2 separate regions of the Homo sapiens genome follow, and region 2 is linked to region 1. Evidence: promoter capture Hi-C in human tissues and cell types (Jung and others, 2019). All regions are on one chromosome and are shown on one strand. The core of a region is centred on a gene start or on the middle of the fragment in contact, and the rest is flanking DNA. Distances in the headings are between cores, read along the strand shown.

Region 1 (4,095 bases), core at 1-2,500:
TGCTCCAGGAACCGCACCTGGAGGGGAGCAGGGTTTGAAGATAGAGAAACTTGGATTTCATGTTCTATGATCAACTCACTAAGGTGCCTCCCACCTCTTTCCGTCCCTCTAAAGCTTTTCTGTGCACTGTGCCTGGCCCTGGGCCCCAGGAGGGGAGGTGCAGACTGAGGCACCCAAACTCACTTTTCCAGGGGGAGATAGGACACCTATCCAGGGCACAGAAAGCACTAGGAGTGCTGCTTGGAGTGTGTCCCGGCTCAGGGGTGGCTGCAAAGGCACTCAGGCTGCTGCCCATGCACTTGTCTACCTTCCTGTACAGTCAGCCCCTTTATATATGGCATGAAATTCATCTCTCTGTCCAACAGTTGTTAAGAGGCCCTTGTGAGCTAACCTCTGAATGGGAAGAAATAATTCTCCCTTCCCAGCTGCCAGTCTAATTCAGAACGTGTCCACAAATCCAGGGCACAGAAACAAACGGAAACACAGAACTGTACAACTATAAAAGTATTTGCACAAAGCCAAAACATCTTCCTTCTTTCTCTCTCTTTGGCATTTATTTCAGACCCACAGTGATTTTTTACAAAAGATCGTAGCTCACCTTGTCGATGAAGGAGGCAAACTTATTGTTGAGGGTCTTGATCTGCTCGCGCTCCTCGGTCCTCACCCTCTGGATGCTGGGGTCGATTTGCAGGTTGAGGGGAGTCAGGAGACTCTGGTTGACAGTGACCTCTTGGATACCTCCAGGAGGGCAGACAGGAAAGCCAGGGCCACCGAAGCCACCTCCAAAGCCAGCTCCGCCACCGAGCCCAAAGCCACCACCAGCTCCACCGCCGAAACCAAATCCACTACCGGCACCACCTCCAAAGCCATAGCCGCCTCCAGCACCAGCACCAAACCGGTTCCTGAAGCTGCCACCACTAGTGCTGATGGATATCCTCTTGGAGCCCCCCAGGTTGTAGAGGCTCCGGCTGCCATAGCCACCCACTCCACAAGCACCCGCAAGGCTGACCCTGCCGAAGCCACCACCACCGCCACCCCCGGACCGGGACACGGAGGTGAAGCTGGTGCGGGAGACAGACGGGGTGATGGCAGAGGCGGTGCTGAAGCTACGACTGCCCCCGCTCCGGAAGGACACACTTGACTGGCGAGACATGGTGGCTTGTTCCTGGTGGAGCAAGAGAACCAGGCACTAGTGGGTTGGGAGGTGCTGGAGAGAACAGAGCTCAGCAGGACGCAGAAGGTGGCTCTGTTACCCAGGAACGGTGATGCCCCCTTTTTATCCCTTCCAGAACTGGGCTGGGCGAGAGAGCTGTCGAGCTGTGAATGATTAAGTGGGCTGGGCATGCCTGGGGGGCAGCTGTGAGCTCACCGGTCACACCTGCACAGTGGTGTGGGGTGCAAACGCTTTCTTCCTGGCAGGCTCTGCTCAGTTAGAAATAACCTTGCCTTGCAGCACTGATCTCTTGGCAGCAAGTTGGTGACGCTGCTAGCAAGTATGTCTTCACCATAGAGGCTGGGGGCTGTGAGCAGCCCAAAAAGGATGCCAGGAACTGAGGGGGCATTGGCATGGCCAGTGTCCTGGGGACTCTTACAGGACCAGGAGTATTGACAACCATCCCAGTACGGTACATGCTGAGCACCTGCCCTTCCAGCTTGGGGAAGCTGTCCATCAGCGGGGGGCAAACGATTCCCCAGTGATCTGCTCTTACACTTTTCCAGGCAGCAGGTTGCTGCAGGGTTTTCCCCTCTGGGAAAGGCAATCTGTAGCCTTATATTCTTGGTTATGTGCTAGAGGGAAAATAGAGTTTCATCCTTTTCTGCACAATTTTTTTCTTAGGGAAGGCACAGCTATCCCAGAGCCCACTGGGCAGATCTGCCTGCAAGGTTTAGGCCAGAGAATGTGGGAAGCCCTCAGCGCCCCCTATAAACCACTTTGACCTCTTTAAGGCCAGGTTTATCCTTCCATAGCTCCTCCTAACTCAGCATTTTTTCTGCCCTTTGACCTTTTCCTTGCTCTTTGGCCTGGGCAGGACTCTGTGGGGGGTTTAGGAAACCCGGGGATCCCATGCAATCCCTTAAAAAAAAACCCTGAGACTCATGGGCTATAGCGTCTCTCTTTGGGGGTAGCTACTCTGCCGGTTCCCCAGCCCCCCAGGTGTGTTCCAGCAAGCTCTATTCCACTAGGGAAGAAATGAGTCATCGTATGTGTTGATACAGGCTGAAGGCCGCCACAAACACATACCTGCAGGAGCTTCTAATCTCATCAGGAACATGTTGAGAGTCTGACGGCCTGTTATAACGGCGAACCACCCTGTTCCAAGCAGCGGGACTTGCTCTGCTTTCTCTATGCTGTAGCCCACAGCCTCCTTCAGGGCCAAGGCAATGGAAAACGGGATTCTAAGTCTATGGATTGTCCTGCCAGAAAGGCTAGCCAGAGCAGGCCTGTGGGCCCAGGCAGCTGGCATGACAATCTGCCAGCTGCTTTAGGGAGGGCCCTTTGAGATCCCCTCTGCAAAACTTGTCTGGGGGGTTGTGGCACCAGGTGGAGGAAAGGGGGTTTCTGATGAGGTTTTAACACACGTCTGTTCTAAACCACACCCACTCTTTTTGGCAGCAGATCTGAGTGGGGCCACCTCTCTGCCGTCCCCCAAATAGAAGCAGGGCTCTCAGGCAGGACAGTGCTTGGGCTGTTCAGAGTTTCGGGGGCGCCCTGTGGCCCGAGGCTGGAGGTAGGAATGCAATGGGGATGGCTTCAAAGCCTCAGGGAGGAGGGGCTATATTCTCAAGAGTAGAAGAACAGGACCAGACCCAGGCTCAGGAATCTCTCACCAGGGCCTGCGGTTGGCCACAAGGAAGCCAAGGCAGTGGGAAAATGACTCCCTGGTGCTGAGGATCAGCTGAAACAGTGACTTCTCACCAGAGGGCTGCGATGAGCAAGCAGCTGACAGGTCAATCTCGGCAGACAGACCAATGGCCGGAGCCGGTCTTACAGGTCTTGAGCAAAATGGTTTGGGTGGCCTCCCTGGCTGGAGCATTTCTGAGACCCTCAGAGATGAATTGTGCTGAGCTCACCATTTTCACATTTGGTTGCTTTCTGGAGAACAGATGTGAGTGTCCTGGAGGCCTGAGACATACCAGGGGACCCTCGGCTCCTGATAGAACAGAACAGATCCAAGCCTGAAGCAAGTGTCTGAGGACTCGTAGTGGGATGCTCCTGCTCCACTCAAAGATCGATATCGGGGTATATCCCCACCACCACATACACTCACAGGTCCCGGGTACAGACCTCACTGCCCTCAGGGAAGCCCCACCCCTCCTGAGACACTGGGACATTCTCTTCTCCCCATTCATTCTCCTCCCAGCTGTGTTGTGAAGAAAGAGGACTTGGCAGAGCAGGAATGCGTTCTGGCTAGTCTGAGGATTGCTAGAGTGTGCCAAGCTCAGATCCATGTGCCAGGGACCAACGGTGAGTGTGTGGTGCTCCATGGGAGCAGGGAGCATGTGGGTGCTCCATGGGAGAAGCAGCAGCACTCTTCTATCCGAGCTTCGTGGGAATCCTCCCATGAGCAGGCAGGGCAGCCCCTCCCTCAATGCCAGACCTGGACAGGTATAAATAATGGAGCCGCTCCTGGTGGGGAGCCAGGCACCAGCACCACTGCAGCTCGGGAGAGTCCCACCCCAGCCTGGAATTTCACTGTGGCAGGAAGGGAGGGATTGTGTTAGGCTCACCAGGGAGCTTTCCTGCTGGGCACCCCACAGAGGCAGTTCCCAGGCTTGGTGGGACATGTTGCTCAGCTTCTCCTCTGGGTGCTGCTTTCCTTGTCAGCAGAAGACAGTGCAGGGCCCGCCCTGCTGCTCTCCCCATCAGAGAAAGGACAGTAAGCTGGCTGCCCTGACCTCTCTCGCAGAGCTGTGCAGGGAATGTAGGACCTGGTCAGCATTTCATACATGGAGAAGCCCTTCACAGACACCAGGGAGAGGGTGGTATCCATTCGTGGAACAAGGGTTAGGCAAATCCTGCCATCCCAGCCCAGGATTCCTTCTCCTCAGAGCCTCCACTCCAATCTGTAGGGCTTTAGTAGAAGATACATTTAA
Region 2 (4,095 bases), core at 1,163-3,662, 240 kb before region 1:
CCCCAGGCCTGGGGAAGGTGGGGTTACATGACCAGGTGGGGCTTGGCTTTCAACTCAGTAGACAACAGTAGGAGACAAGGGCTGTCACCAGGCTAGGGGAGGGAGGGGGAACTGATCACCCATGCCACAGGCATATTGCATTGATCACCTCCTTTAACACCTCACAAAACCCTGGCAGGGAGGTCCTATTATCCCCATTTTACAGATGAGGGGTAAGTTTCAGAGAGGTTAAGTGACAGCTTTAGGGACACACACTAGTCTTCAGATTATGGAGCTACCTGCTCTGGGGTCTCCTGTAGAGGTTTAAAATGTTCCCTCACGGTCTCACCTTCCAAGATCAAGTCAGGCCAAAGAAAGTGTAGTTTTTTTTTTTTTTTTTTTGGTCTTCTCTTTCCTCCAAAAAGTCATCAACAAAAGTGAGTTATATGAATTTAAGGCAGGAGTGATCAGAGAGCGCCAGGGAGCTTGCAGGGTGGAAGGACTGCTGTCTGGGAGGGTCAGGAGTGTGTGTCCTGGGGAATGCAGAATACCAAACCTAGTAGACAGATGGACTCACCTGCTTCCTTCTTTCCGCTGGCTTGGTCTGGGATTTGGGGCAAGGAGCATCAGTAAGTAAACAGTAGGCTGGCATGGTCGGATCTTATCTTATTATCTTATTCTCCTTATTCCCTCCTTCCCCGTCCACACCTTGGCGTGCCTCCTCTTGAGAAGGCAGAAGGGCTGTGTTTCTGTTCCTGTGTCTGTGACAGCTCCCTCTGTGCCTCTCCTTTTGTCGGGGGCTATTTCTTCTCTCGGGGGTGACTGCGTTTGCGTGTGTGGGGAAGGGGGTCCTGTGGTCTGTTCTCTGGGGAGAGGTCTGTTTACCTGTTCCTTTCGGGGAGTTTGTACATCTGTCTCCTGGTGGGGAGGAGGGTCTGTGTATCTGGAGGAGATGTCTGCAAGTCTGTCTTCTGGGGCTTGGGGTGGGGGGAGGAAGGGCTTTCCTCCCTCGGACAGTCGTCCTCCGTTCAGCCGGGCTCCGCCTGCCTGCTCCAGCCCCGAGCAGGCTCCGGCGCCCTGGAGACGAGCGCCCCTGGCGGCGGCTACGCGCTCTGCGGCTCTCCCGGCTGTGTCCGTGGGCTTTAGCTACACAGCTCCCGCAGATGTTGAACCCTTCCCGCCTCCCTCCGGAGAAGACAAGGAACCCTCAGCTTCTGCCCTAAAGACTTAGCCCTCTTGTGTCAGATGCCCCCTCCCATAGAGCTGACCCCACATCATCTTTCCTTTTTGCCTCCCACACCGGGACGTGAGGCGTTGGAGCACAGCTTACAGGACTATGACTGACCATCCCCAGTGCAGATGGCCTGGACGCTGGTGCCATTGGGTAGAGGTGGCCAGCTTACCTGGACCAAGAACCCTGCCCCTCTGAACTGTTCCCACCCCTTCTTTCCAGGGACTTCTCTGCAATAAAAAGTTGTGGAGTGGTCTGAGCTGCCAGGAGTTTAAACCCGGATTCTCCAGGCCATTCCCAGAGCACAGACAAACCTGGCTGCGGTGGAGGGGTCAGGGCGAGAACAGTACCAGGAAGCAACCTCCTCCCCTCCTGCTGTGAGGGTCTATGTGACTTAAGTATATGATGATTCGATATTATAGAACCAGAGTCTTTAGGATGGGGAGCCCGGAGTCCATGGGGAAAGCGAGAGAAAGGGTTCATTCATGCAGAAGAGTCTAGCCTGGGGCCCATAGCTTCTGGGCAGCAGAGCTGAGAATTCCATTCTCCATCCATCCATTCACTCTACACATACTTACTGAATGGCCTCATAGTGCTTGGTTCAGGGGACAGGATGGTGAGGAAGACACTCTAGGATTCCTGGAGATGAGGTTCTGGGTAGGGAGGTGGGCCATAGACGAGGAAACCGAGCAGAAACAGAAAAGGGTGAGATGGGGATTGGGCCAGTGCCTTCTATCACCCTGATGGGGCATTTGAAGACAGGTGGCCCTTGCAGATGGGGGCTGGAGAGAGATGAACACAATTGGGTGGCCCAAGCTTGGGTTCTGGTTTAACACACAATTGGGCCACCGAGTTGTGTTAATATGATCTGGTGGCGGGCAGAGGAACAACACACTATGGTGGAGGAAATTGTGGGCTGTGAAATCAGACGGAGGCTCCAGCTCTGTCTCTACTTCAGATCCAGGGTGTAAGTTGGTCCGAGTTTTTACAAGGCATTGGATTTTGGTGGTCGGAAGATAGAGTGGGGTGGCTAGATAAAGGCTGGATTTCTGGGTTCTTTCCCTGCCACACAGACCCAAGAGAAGCTTCTGTACAGTGAGCCCACATTCCTTTCTATTGCATGAAATTACATCATCAATGCAACAATAGTTTCTGCTTTCTATGTCCCTGGGTGGGGCTGAAGTGCGTCATTGGCCAGAGGCTTGGGCTTTACTTTTTAAGGCACTCTAGTGCCAGAGTGTCTGCTGTGTTCTTCTGGGTGCCTGCCCAGAGGACAGGTATCCAAAAGGCCCTCTTCTTGTGTAAACAGAAAAGTCTCATGCAAGAGGAATGGGACTGAAACTTGGCTAGCCGGATGCCACCCTCCTGAGGGGTAGGGGGCATGACCCCACTGGGCTCACACATCAGCCCTGGTTGATAAATACTGACCTGCCAACACTCGCAAATGCAAACAAGCTGCCTGAAGATTCTTTCAAGATTCTTTAGTCCAGCTCTGTGCTCCTTGCATTTTGCTAGGGGATCATGAGATTCTCTGCTATTCAAGCCCAATTTTCTCCAGCTCCTGCTATGATGATCATGTCAACAAGGGAACTTTGTGGGAATTGTAGGCAGGATCTAGGATGTACATTCTGCAACCTGCGTCACTCAGGACTGTTGCTCACATTTTCCCTTTTCAAATACCGAACCTGGACTTGCCTGATGTCAATCCAGAAGATCCCCAGGGCTTTGGGGTCAGGTTTGAGTTTCTTCCTGGGCCAGGGCCCTGTGGATCACAAGCAATGTTTGTGGTTTGGAGACTAATTCCCTGAGAGGCTCCCCTGGCCATGGGCCACATTCCAGACTGGGGTGGGAGGAAACTGCCCAGTGCATTTATGGAGAGTCATTCCCCAGCCCATTTATAAGCTTTGTGAGTCGGGTGGCTTCTGAAGGGAGGAGGGCTGTCCTCAGTTCAGTCATTGCTTCTCAGCAGAAGGGCACTATAAGGTGTGAGTCCTCTGTTGGCTCTGCATGCCTGCCTCACACTCCGTTGTATTTAAACATGTCAGATGCTAACTTGGCTGTGGTCATGTCTCTATCTGAGCCCCAGGAGGGCAGTGAAGGTCTCATCCATCCTCAGGGTCTGCCACAGAGTAGATGTGATGGGGTTGAGGCTGCATGGTCCTGGTTGGTGTGTCCTGTCCTGAGATGTATTGGGCCCTGTTTTTGACCATTGGCATGTGGCATTCTGCATAACCCCTTGGAAGTCTCTTGTGGAGTCTAAATGCAGTCCTTCCTGCTGTGATTTCAGCTGTAAGAGATCAACCAGACCAGCCTGGAGTAAGGAAGGAAGGGCCTTGATCCTGTTCCCAGTCTTATTCTTACCTTGTCCAAACTCTTCACCTGTTTCTGGGCCTCAGTCCTGCCCTCCTCTAGATCTAAATTGTGAAGATTCTTTTTTTCCTTCTTATTTAATTTTAAATTTATTTTTGTAGTGATGAAGTCTTGCTCTATCACCCAGGCTAGAGTGCAGTGGCAGGATTATAGCTCACTGCAGCCTCAACCTCCTGGGCTGAAGCGATCCTCCTGCCTCAACCTCCTCAGTAGCTGGGACTACAGGCACATGCCTCCACGCTCTGCTAATTAAAAAAAAAGTTTTGTAGAGATGGGGTCTCACCATACTGCCCAGGCTGGTCTCAAACTCTTGGCCTCAAGCAATCCTCCTGCCTCAGCCTCCCAAAGTGCTGGGATTACAGATGTGAGCCACTGTGCTTGGCTTTCTTTTTCCTTGTTTTCTTCCCTACTTAGTCCCTCTGAGCCAAAGGTTAGCTGCAAAATAGAGTAACTATCAGAGGGTTGTTTGAGAAAAGGTATTGCTGCATGTAAAGTGCTTAAAGCATAGGAAGTTA

What was found. Contacts are between HindIII fragments. The study calls those that stand out against the background at their distance.
Region 2: a contact is called between a fragment that was not itself captured here and the fragment with the promoter of KRT5 in region 1, in 1 of the 25 tissues and cell types used here (adrenal gland).

The regions. Positions count from the first base shown.
Region 1 is chr12:52,519,144-52,523,238 of GRCh38, forward strand. KRT5 (keratin 5) reads right to left here and starts at 1,251. Exons shown (of 9, transcript NM_000424.4): 1 at 599-1,251; 2 at 1-17. The coding sequence starts at 1,153. RefSeq lists enhancers at 1-338, 3,158-4,095. The HindIII fragment of the contact is 8,601 bases long and covers 1-4,095 here.
Region 2 is chr12:52,278,077-52,282,171 of GRCh38, forward strand. The region is part of intron 2 of KRT86 (keratin 86); the gene reads left to right. KRT86-AS2 (KRT86 antisense RNA 2) reads right to left here and starts at 1,080. Exons shown (of 2, transcript NR_199073.1): 1 at 865-1,080. RefSeq lists an enhancer at 2,001-3,200. The HindIII fragment of the contact is 5,713 bases long and covers 1-4,095 here.